Linked DNA regions of Homo sapiens: regions 2 and 3 are each linked to region 1. The links are contacts of gene promoters, found by promoter capture Hi-C in blood cells and fetal thymus (Javierre and others, 2016). All regions are on one chromosome and are shown on one strand. The core of a region is centred on a gene start or on the middle of the fragment in contact, and the rest is flanking DNA. Distances in the headings are between cores, read along the strand shown. Region 1 holds the start of ZNF891 (zinc finger protein 891). Region 2 overlaps ZNF268 (zinc finger protein 268). Region 3 has its middle 10 kb from the start of ZNF268.

Evidence for each region. Contacts are between HindIII fragments. The CHiCAGO score rates a contact against its expected background, and 5 or more counts as called.
Region 2: a fragment that was not itself captured here is called in contact with the fragment with the promoter of ZNF891 in region 1 in 6 of 17 cell types (naive CD8 T cells, total CD4 T cells, naive CD4 T cells and 3 more); the score reaches 7.0 in naive CD8 T cells.
Region 3: a fragment that was not itself captured here is called in contact with the fragment with the promoter of ZNF891 in region 1 in 1 of 17 cell types (erythroblasts); the score reaches 5.6 in erythroblasts.

The regions. Positions count from the first base shown.
Region 1 is chr12:133,128,379-133,132,203 of GRCh38, forward strand. ZNF891 (zinc finger protein 891) reads right to left here and starts at 1,896. Exons shown (of 2, transcript NM_001277291.2): 1 at 1,849-1,896. It overlaps ZNF10 (zinc finger protein 10), which reads left to right and starts at 2,249. Exons shown (of 5, transcript NM_015394.5): 1 at 2,249-2,376. RefSeq lists silencers at 1,512-1,691, 2,062-2,301 and enhancers at 2,352-2,631, 3,714-3,825. The HindIII fragment of the contact is 7,004 bases long and covers 1,284-3,825 here.
Region 2 is chr12:133,191,138-133,194,962 of GRCh38, forward strand. It overlaps ZNF268 (zinc finger protein 268), which reads left to right. Exons shown (of 6, transcript NM_003415.3): 4 at 352-478; 5 at 771-866. Among named protein-coding and RNA genes, the nearest start is that of ZNF268, 12 kb to the left of the region's middle. The HindIII fragment of the contact is 4,524 bases long and covers 1-3,825 here.
Region 3 is chr12:133,169,325-133,173,149 of GRCh38, forward strand. No RefSeq gene overlaps it. Among named protein-coding and RNA genes, the nearest start is that of ZNF268, 10 kb to the right of the region's middle. The HindIII fragment of the contact is 7,086 bases long and covers 1-3,825 here.

The DNA.
Region 1 (3,825 bases), core at 646-3,145:
CCTAGCACTTTGGGAGGCCAAGGCGGGCGGATTGCCTGAGCTGAAGAGTTCGAGACCAGCCTGGGCAACACCGTGAAACCCCGTCTCTACTAAAAAATACAAAAAATTAACCGGGCATGGCAGTGTGCGCCTGTGATCCCAGCTATTCCAGAGGCTGAGGCAGGAGAATGGCTTGAACCCGGGATGTGGAAGTTGCAGTGAGCAGAGATCCTGCCATTGCATTCCCGCCTGGGCGAGAGAGAGAGACTCTGTCTCAAAAACAAACAAACAAACAAAAACAAAAATTAGCTGGATTAGCCGGGCGTGGTGGGGCCTGAGGCAGGAGAATCGCTTGAATCCGGGTGGTAGAGGCTACAGTGAGCCGAGATCACGCCACTGCACTCCAGCCTGGAGACAGAGTGAAACTCTGTCTCGAAAAAAAAAAAAAAGTAGAAAAACAGAGACAAAGTAAAAGAAAAATTTAAAAATTAAGAGCAAAACTTACTGTAATAGGACCCCCCTCCCCAAAAAAGACCAAAACAAAACAACAAAAAAACCAAAACCAAATCTACATTTTTGAAAAGACTATGTACACATATACCTTATAGGAGTAATCAAGAAAAAAAGGCCTAGATAATTAGGTTCAAAAAAGAAAAAAATAACAATTACAGCAGTAAAATATTAAAAAGTGGTGATTTTAAAAATCACCATAGAAATTACTTACAGTGATAAAATAGCATGGGCAATTTTATGCCAATAAATTTGAAAAATTAGATTAAAAACAATTATCTAGGAAAGGTATCTAAAACAGAATACGAACTAAAAAACCTAATCAATGAGACTTTTTAAAAAATTGAGTCAGGGCCGGGTGCGGTGGCTCACGCTTGTAATCTCAGCGCTTTGGGAGGCCGAGGCAGGCTGATCACCTGAGGTCGGGAGTTCCAGACCAGCCTGACCAACATGGAGAAACCCCATCTCCACTAAAAATACAGAATTAGCTGGGCGTGGTGGCTCATGTCTGTAATCCCGGCAACTCACAAGACTGAGGCAGAAGAATCACTTGAACCCGGGAGGCGGAGGTTGCTGTGAGCCAAGATGGCGCCATTGCACTCCAGCCTGGGCAACAAAGAGCGAAACTCTGTCTCAAAAAAAAAAAAAAAAAAAATTGAGTCAGAAGTTAAATGCGTACTAAATATTTTAAGACCAAATAGCACCAAACTTTTGGAGGCGGGCGGGGGGCGGTGAGGGGTGGTGACCTGTTTTACAGAATAGAAGAGAGACTGTGCTGTCCAAATTATTCATGAAGCTTGTAAAATCTTGTTAGTATAACGGGCAAGGATAGTACACAAAAAGATTAAAACACAATCTTGTGAGCATAGGTGAAGTCAAAGGGAAACAGCCAATTGAATACACCAGAGTATTAAAGAAATAAAACCATATCGCATTCAACCACAGTATAAGGCAATAGGTGAAAAAAACGATGGCTGTGATTCAACTCATTACTAGGTTTAGAGATTCAAGAGAGGCTGCTGGACAGAGGCGTGCACCCTTTAGCCCTCCCGTGTTGCTTAGAGAAGGAGGCAAACGCGCATCCCCGGCCCCCCAGCGCTCCCTGCGTGGCACCCGCAGCCAGCCCGGGACCCCTCCGCCCCGCGCGCCCCTGGTCCCCACTCGCTCCCCGCGCTCCACTCGCACCCGGTAAGTAGCCCCTCCTCCCTCAAGGGCCTCTCCCACCGCCGCCTCCCGGGCAGGCTCCCTGCTGCTCAGACTCCCGTGAGGCGATCCCTGCACGCAGGAGAACTCAGCGGGCCAGGCTGATCCCACGAGGGACTTGTCCCGGGTGAACGAGCCACAGGCCCGCATGCTCACCCGTCCTCAGTGCCTGCCTCCAGGCGTCCGCGGTCCCGCCCGAGGGGGACGCGAGGCCGAACTACGTTTCCCAGGAGCTCCTGCGCCGCCCCGCAGAGGGGCCTGGTCTGTGCGTCACGGACGCGCTCTGGGCCGAAGGCCCGCAGGGTCCGGCACAGAGTGGCGGCTGCGGCGCCGGCGACGAATCGCCGGCTCTAGGGTCCCGGGGCGCGCGGCTGACGGGCTGGGGGCGGAGCGTGGCCTGAACGCCAGGCTGGGGCGCGTGCGTAACGGTGTGTGTTGTGGGTGCGTGTGCGTGCGTTCGCAGCAGGGGCGGGCGTAGGACCAATGGGGGCGGGGCGCGTGCGCGTGCGTGACGTCAGGCCACGGGGAGGTGGCGCCGCCGTGCCGAGCCGGCCTCAGACTCACCTCTGACGCCGCTCTTCGCGCTCCGCTGGTGAATGGAGTCGCGTTCTCTGTTTTGCTGTTGCTGCTGCCTTTGTGACGGGATCGCTTTCTCCCATCGAACCTTCTAGTTGCTTATTGCAGGTATATACGAAAGTGCTGAATTTTGTGTTTGCATCGTCATCAGGCGCGTGTTGAGCCCTTTAGTAATGTAGCAGTGTATTAGCTTCGTATTTCTAGGTAGACGGTAATTTCGTCAATGAAAAAATTTAACGGTGATCGTCACCCCTTGCCTCAGTCACTTTCTGTCCCTCGCGCGGCCCCGGCGTTCACGGCGGACGTTCTTGTTCTGTGGAGAATAACGGCTGCACCTGGAGATTGACGCAGAGTGGGCGGCGGTGGTGGTAAGTTTGAACCAGATATTTTCAGTAATACAAAATAAGGTTTCTTCTAGTCTAACTTCCATTTTTCCCCCCAGCTGGGATAGATGTTTAAAATTTTGCATATGGCCTTTCTAGTATTTGTTGAAATAGTGACGCCGATTCGTGTGTGGTCTTTTAAAAACAAATCCTGCATCTCTAGCTCTTAGCTTCCTCATCTTTGTTTTGTTTTTTAATCAGATAGATTAACTGAAGGCGTGTTTGTGTGGTTAATCTATTTTTTTTATTTTCAGAGACAGATCATAAGTTTAATTACTATATTTTTATTTTCCCTTGACACTAGATATATATACGCCATCTAACACATAATATGAGTGTCAAAGATAAGGTTAACATCAAGATTTCGTACGTAGATCCCACCCAAAGTGTATGCAGAAGGTGAACAATTTCAATTCCAGCTATACATTAATTGCAGAAAGATACTGTTAATTAAAAAAAAAAAAGTAAAAGGGAAGGCAGGATGTCACCCAGAATGCCAGCCAACAAGTGTTATTAGGTTAGAAATGACTGCAGTTAGGTCTCCGAGAACTGGATAGCACAAATCCTCCCTACCCTTTTGAAAATTACCTCCACACTAACTTTTCTCTTGTGACATAACTAATCTCTTCTGTTTTACTAAAATTGTCCCCCATCTTCCAAAGCCTCTTGGATGGTAAGTTGCACACGCTCCTGCCTCTTTTTGAAAGTTACATTTGTTTTTTGATTACTTCTCTCAGCATGCATTTCTTTAGCTCTTAGTATATGCTAGTCACAAGGGCAGAGATTTGAGATACACATCATAAATTAAATGAGAATTTCTGCTTATCAGTATTTTATATAAGCACTGTCTGGAAATTCTACTTAGGACAATATTTAAGTAGATATGAGGCTTACCTTCTGGAAAAGAGATTACAAAATTATCCTTGTTAATTAATTAACTAATTAAGTCCCCAAAATGAGAAGAGATTCAATTACTATCAATAATTTGTAGTAAAGTGACTGAAAAGGAAATATATAAGCTAATAGATTGATTGCCGTCCTCAACAAGTTAGCACATACTTTTATTTTTAAAAAGTCTTCACAATAGGAAGAAAATAATTTTAGCTAGAAATATATGTGAACTATATGAGAAAAACTTCAAAACCTTACTAGGCAATTCTTACTAGAAGAATAA
Region 2 (3,825 bases), core at 720-3,219, 63 kb after region 1:
AACCCCGTCTCTACTAAAAATACAAAAAAATCAGCCGGACTTGGTGGTGGGTGCCTGTAGTCCCAGCTACTCGGGAGGCTGAGGCAGGAGAATGGCGTGAACCCAGGAGGTATACCTTGCAGTGAGCCAAGATCACACCACTGCACTCCATCCTGGGCAGCAGAGTGAGACTCTGTCTCAACAAAAAAAAAAAAAGAAAGAAAGATGACTGATTTAATGCACATTGATGGATGTTTTCAATACAATTTTTGTTCTCACAAAGTTAAACATAAATAATGGACACCCTAAACAGCTAGTTTTCCACAAACCTAGTAAAATAACTTGAAATTGGATGAGCATATTGTATTTCAGGGACCTTTGTCATTCATGGATGTGTTTGTGGATTTTACCTGGGAGGAGTGGCAGCTGCTAGACCCAGCACAGAAGTGCCTGTACAGGAGTGTGATGTTGGAGAACTATAGCAACCTGGTGTCCCTAGGTAAGTGCTGCCTCCCTGAGGAGGAGTGTGCTCGATCTCCAGGCTTCTTCTTGGTTGCTGAAAACTGGAGGGCTTCTATGAAATACTTAGTGATTTTGGACTTAGATTTTAAGGCCAGATTTTCTTAGTTCCCTATTGGCAGCAGAGTATGCCAGTTGAATGGTCTTTACTTTGCCAAATTGCAAAAAGGCAGCTTCATCATGCTACCTCCAAACCAAATCTTTCCCGTTCTTCAGAATCTCTGAATCTCAAGCTGTTTGTTCCAGGTTGTCTGTGATTTTTCTATTTATAGGGTACCAACACACCAAACCTGATATCATCTTCAAGTTGGAACAAGGAGAAGAGCTGTGTATGGTGCAGGCCCAAGTTCCAAATCAGACCTGTCCAAGTGAGTGATGGAGACAAATCTTTTCTTCTTTATTTAGAATTAGCATGAATTCCAATGTGATGTGCTCCTCTTGTTTGTACTTTGCCTCGTGTATTACCATGCACTTTTTTTTTTTTTTTTTTGAGACAGAGTTTCACTTTGTTGCCCAGGCTGGGGTGCAGTGGCGTGATCTCGGCTCGCTGCATCCTCTGCCTCCTGGGTTCAAGCAATTCTTCCGTGTCAGCCTCCTGAGTAGCTGGGGTTACAGTTGTGCGCCACCATGCCCGGCCAATTTTTGTATTTTTAGTAGAGATGGGGTTTTGCCGTGTTGGCCAGTCTAGTCTCGAACTCCTGACCTCAGGTGATCCGCCTGCCTTAGTCTCCTAAAGTGCTGGGATTACAGGCGTGAGCCAGCGTGCCCGGCCTTACCATCCACTCTTAATCTTCTCGTTGGCACCCTTATTTCCCTCCTTACTCTATCTTGGTGATAGACTCATTTCATTGTGCATTTTAGCAAGCCTTTCCTCTTTCCTTCACTTGATGTGACTCTCATGATCCTTCCCTTTCCTTTCTACATTTTGAAAATTACATTTAAATCCCTTACACATAAATTCAACAACCACAGTCCCATCTTCCTTCTTTTTGAAACCTGTTAGTAGATTCTACCCCTTTTGTGCTTCTCTATGCTAATGGATTTTTTTTTTTGAGACGGAGTCTCATTCTGTCGCCCAGGCTGGAGTGCAGGGGTGCAATCTCGGCTCACTGCAAGCTCTGCCTCCCGGGTCTCCTGCTTCAGCCTTCCAAGTAGCTGGGACTACAGGCACCTGCCACCACGCCCGGCTAATTTCTTGTATTTTTTGTAGATACAGGGTTTCACCACATTAGACAGGATGGTCTCGATCTCCTGACTTTGTGATCCGCCCACCTCGGCCTCCCAAAGTGCTAGGATTACAGGTGTCAGGCACCATGCCTGGCCTTGCTAATGGCTTTAACATTATCACTCTATACCTTCTGAGCACATTCCTTTGTCATGTGATAGTGTCCATGATCCTGCAGTGACACCTGTTGATCCTGCTCTTCTGCTGCATGACCGAGCACTTTTTCCCTTCATGTTCCACTGGGCTTCTCTTGCTCTTCTGAATCCAAGGGGTCTTTATTCTTCATTTCCCTCATATAGTGTAACTTTTAAAAGACTTACGCATTAGCTGAGCATGGTGGTGTGCACCTGTTGTCCCAGCTCCTTGGGAGGCTGAGGTGGGAGGATTGCTTGAGCCCATGAATTTGATGCTGCAGTGAACTATGGTTGTGCCACTAGACTCTGGCCTGGGTGATAGTGAGATCTCATCTCAAAAAAAGAAGACTTCTGTCTCAGTCTATTTGTGTTGCTGTAATAAAATACTATAGACTAGGTAATTTTATAAAGCACAGAAATTTATTTCTCACAGTTTTGAAGGCTGGAAAGTCCAAAGCCAAGGTGCTGGCAGGTTTGGTGTCTGGTGAGGGCCTGCTCTGTGCTTCCAAGATGACGCCTTGTTGCTGCATCCTCTGGAGGTGAGGAACACTGTGGGACAGAAAGAGGGGCAAAAAAGGCCTAAGATCATTCCCTCAAGCCCTTTTAGAAACGACTAATCCATTCATGAGGGCACAACTTAATCTTCTCTTAATACCACCACAATGGGGAGTAAGTTTCAACATGAGTTTTAGAGGGGACACATTCAAACCTTAATAACTTCCATTCGGAAGATTGAAGCTCTTTTCCTCTACTGGTAATTGATAGCCATACTGATCTTTTATCTGCCCTTTGGTCCTGGTTTTGATTGATTCACTGGCATCTCCCTCATACCACTCCCTGGCCTCGTTTTCAGAAACTGGAATCGTCTCTCCCACTGCTCCACCTACATACCACCTTCTTTTCATCTTTCTTCTCTTTGTTTATCCTGTTTTTTAAATTCTAAGTTTTTTTTCCTAACACTGGGGAAGTCAGCTTGAATTTCCTTTCTGTGCAGGGCTCCCTTACTAATTTTGGTACAGTGTTGTTAGCATTTTGTTCCTTTAAAAAGAGGTCTTTTAAAACCCTCATCGTCTCAATTCCCACTCAAAACGAGGCCAGTATTGTCATGTCTGGATTGTTGTATTTAGCTAAATTTATTCATTGTACTCTTTTTATATTAATTCATCTTCGATGTTACTGTCAGATATATTTCCCTGAATACCCCATTTATTCTATCACTAGCATGACAGCATAAATCAACAGTTAGTCCTTGCATTACTAGGATTGTTTCAGCTGCAGTTGTTGGTCAATCCCAGACCAACTAATTTAAGCAGAAGTGATTTATTATTACACATCACAAAAGGTCCTGAAGTGGGGCAGCTCCAGGATCAACTAAGTGATTGACTCACTCAATCGCCAAGGGCCCATCTAGGTATGTTGACATTTTCCTTAGGTTACCTTCTTTAATGGCCCTCAGATGGCTCTTGCAGTTCTAGTTGATGCCTGTGGATATACCAGTGGCCAATGAAATAAAAAGGGCTGTTTCTTCACACACGAGTCTGTCAGACAGGAAAACTCATCCCAGGAAGTCCCAAGCAGACTGATCATGTTCAACAGGCTAAATTTTTGTCACATGCCCCTGTCTGAGGGAGGCTCTGGAAAGGGAAATGGGGCTATCTCCGTTGGCTCAGATAAATTATGCTTTACCTTTTGGAAGCGGGACTGGGGATAGAAATGGGTCTTCACTTCCCTGACTGAAGCACATCACCTAGATGGGGGTGGAAAAAAATCAGGTTACTGCCAGCCAGGAACAGGGCAGAAGAACCACTGGGTAAGCAGCACTGTCTGCCTTCACCTTCCTTGGCCAGGCAGCACCTGTCACACCCTTCTTCCCAGCCATCCATCTTCAGATATTTGCTGCAACCCATATGTTGGTTCTTGTACTACATTAATACAAGTCTAGGATCCTGTTCCCATTCAGAGTGGGGA
Region 3 (3,825 bases), core at 468-2,967, 41 kb after region 1:
CCCTGTCTCTACTAAAAATACACACACACACACACACACACACACACACACACACAGTCGGGCATGGTGGCACACCTATAATCCCAGCTACTCAGGAGGCTGAGGCAGGAGAATCGCTTGAACCTGGGAGCTGGAGGTTGCTGTGAGCTGAGATAGCACCACTGCACTCCAGCCTAGGTGACAGAGTGAGATTCTGTCTCCAAAAAAAAATTAATTTTTAGAACATTTTCATATACCCCCTCCCCAAAACTTCATATCCATTAGTAATCAGACTAGGCAACCAATAAGCTACTGTTTCTACAGATTTGCCTTCTGAGAACATTTCATGTAAATAGTATCATGCAATATGTGGTCTTATAAGACTTGCTTCTTCCATTCAGTATAATGTTTTGAGGTTTATTTGCTCAGGCATGTACCAGTACTTAAGTCCTTTTTTGCTTAATAGTGTTACATTGTATAGATATGTCTCATTTTGTTTTTCAAACATTAGTTGTTGGATATTTGGGTTGTTCCCACTTTTTGGCTATTATGAATAATGCTTCTGGTAACATTTATGTACATGTCTTTGTGTGAACATTTCTGTTTGTTTTTTTTTAAGAGATGGAAGTCTCACTCTGTCACTCATGCTGGAGTGCAATGGTGTAATCATAGCTCGCTGAAACCTCGAACTCCTGGGCTCAAGCAATCCTCCGCCACCTCAGCCACCCAAGTAGCTGGGACTACAGGCATGTCACCATACCTGAATATCTTTTCCCTTATCTTGGGTAATGAGCTTTGCTAAAGAGCACTTTGGGAGCCTGAGGCTGGAGGATCACTTGAGGCCAGGAGTTTGAGACCATCCTTGGCAACGTGGTGAGACTGTATCTCTCCAAAAAAAAAAAAAAAAGTCAGGCATGGTGGTGCATACCTGTAGTCTTAGTTACTTGGGAGGCTGAGGTGAGAGGATCACTTGAGCCCAGGAGTTTGAGGTTACCTTGAGCTATGATTATACCACTGCACTTCATCTGGGGCAACAGAGCAAGATCATGTTCCTAAAAATAAAAATAAAATATAATATAATATATAAAATTTTTTAAAGCCTGATTTTTTTTAAAGCCTGACATACTTTTTTTTAAAGAGACACCCAGGCTGGAGTACTGTGGCATGATCATAGCTCACTGCAGCCTCAAACTCCTGGCTCAAAGGATCCTCCTGCCTCAGCCTCCTGAGTAGCTGGGACTACGGGTATGCACCCCCACCCCAGCTAATTTAAACAAATTTTTTTTAGAGATGAGGTCTTCTCAAATTGTCCAAAGTGCTTTGGTGGCATTAGCCACCACACCCAGCCTAGTTGACGTACTTAATCTACCTGAGATTTATTTTAAATATATTGTGAGACAGCCATCTTTATTTATATTATTATATAGCTACCTTGTTGTTCCTATACAGTTTATTGAAAAGTTTATCTTTTCCATAATGACTTTTCCCCTAATATTTTCTTATGAAAAATTTCAAACTTACAGAAGAGTTTAAATAATTTTACAGTAAACACTGATATTTCCAATTTTAAGCGGTTATCTACTGTGTTGAAATTTGCACTGATGGTACAAAACGATGGTGGGTAAAACTGCTGGCACTTCAGCATCAATCAAGGTAATAGCAAAAAAAGATATTTATTAGCAGCCATTGTATTCTTCATCACTACACGTTCATAGTTTTGTTTGTTTGTTTGAGACAGGGTCTAGCTCTGTTGCCTAGGTTGGAGTGCAGTAGCATGATCATAGCTCACTGCCGCCTCAAACTCCTGGGCTCAAGCAGTCTTCCTGCCTCAGTCTCCTGAGTAGCTAGAACTGTAGGTGTTCACCACCGTACCTGGGTAATTTTATTTTATTTAGAGATGGGGTCTCGCTATGTTATCCAGGCTGGTCTCATACTGCTGGCCTCATGTGATCCTCCCACCTCAGCCTCCCAAGTAGCTGGGATTACAGAGATGAGCCTCTCCACCCAGATTTGTATTTTTTAAAGGAAGTCAATTTAACTTTAGGATGTCTTTGATAAAGCAGTAAAGAGTCATTTTATTAAATATCAACTCTTAAATACATCTCTTTTTTTTTTGAGATGGAGTCTCGCTCTGTCGCACAGGCTGGAGTGCAGTGGCGCGATCTCGGCTCACTGCAAGCTCTGCCTCCTGGGTTCACACCATTCTCCTGCCTCAGCCTCCCGAGTAGCTGGAACTACAGGCGCCCGCCACCACGCCCAGCTAATTTTTTTGTATTTTTAGTAGAGACGGGGTTTCACCGTGTTAGCCAGGATGGTCTCAAACTCCTGACCTCATGATCTGCCTGCCTCGGCGTTCTTAAGTGCTGGGATTACAGGCGTGAGCCACCACGCCTGGCCTAAATACATCTCTTTTTAATATCTGTGCAATGAACGTTCTGTGCTGTATACTGAAGTTCCACAGTTGTCTCAAGAAAAAGCATTTGTGTGATTATTTACATTGAGAGGTGAACTTTACATTGGGAGCTGAACTTTGCATTAAAGAAGGACTGAGAAACCTTTGCAGGTATTCTCTCAAAAATCAACCAAGTAAACTTGTCACTTAAAGGAAGGCAAATGACAGGGTTTTATTATTTATTTATTTATTGGTCAATATAAAAGTAGAATTTTCAAGAGAAAAATACAATTTTGGTTTTCTTTCCCCAAGATGGCTGACTAGAGGCTTTTTCAGTTCACCTTATCCACTTCTATGAACCAAACTAGTGTCTGGGCAATCACACTTTGAACATATTATCCAAGAGGGAACATAGGAGTTCAAAAGAAAAGCAAAGGGAATCTCCAGAATCTGGGGAAGAGAAGGAGGGCAGGCAGCCTGCAGGGCTGCAATTGGCCAAAAACTGGGAGTGAATCCCTGATATGGGAGAGGGTAACTGAGTGCCTTTCTGTGGTTCATTTTCCCTCTAGGGAATTGTGCAATCCAGGCCACAGGAGAGCACCTTGATCCTCCTGAGCCCTGGATCTAACTTGGGAGCAGTCAGTAGACTGTGAGGAAGAGCTGCTTTGGGAAGTATCCCATGAACTCCTCTAGACCTGGGCGTCTACAATAATAGGATGTTATTCTCAATCCTAGCTCTTATAAAGCTGTACTGAGTCCAGGGAGCTAGCAGTGGCATCAGTTGACTGTGTTAGAGACTCATGCTGGGACTCAGGGAACTGGGGCTCAAGTTGGTGAGGGACTCCTACAGCCAGAATGGAGAATCAAGTCTGGTGTGTGCTCCAGCTGCTGGCACTTGAACTGGGCTGTCCCCACCTTCTGACTGGAGCAGGGGGAGAACTTCTGGGGAGGCATGGTATTGAGCCAGGCAATGACTCCTATTGCCTGGGGCTGCATTGCAGAATAGAAGGAAACTGCAGTGACTGAATAAATATGCAGATTGGCGGACACAGTCTGGGTTAGGGAGTGAGCCTTACTGGGACTGGGATGTGAGAGGGAAGCAGGCCCCACTCCTGCCTGCCAAGGCTGCAGTGCTGAGACTGCCCTACTCTCTCCATGCTGAGCCCCTGACACAGGAGCACTTGCCCCTAAGCTGGGCATTTCACTAGGGGCCTGAGGATGGCCCCACAAGCCCTGTCAGTGTTAGTGCATGCACCTGTCATTGGTGATCTCGGTGCAGTCTTGCTTGGTCCAGCTCTATCCAGCCTTGCCATCCCTCTGAGAGGGCGTGTGGGATCCTGGCCTCTGGGGGTTTCATGGCCCAATCCACCACCTGGGACACCCAAGTACTTCTTCTAAGGAACAGAGGTTGGGCATAAATCCCACGGCTACTACTGCAGCTAGCTCATACCTAC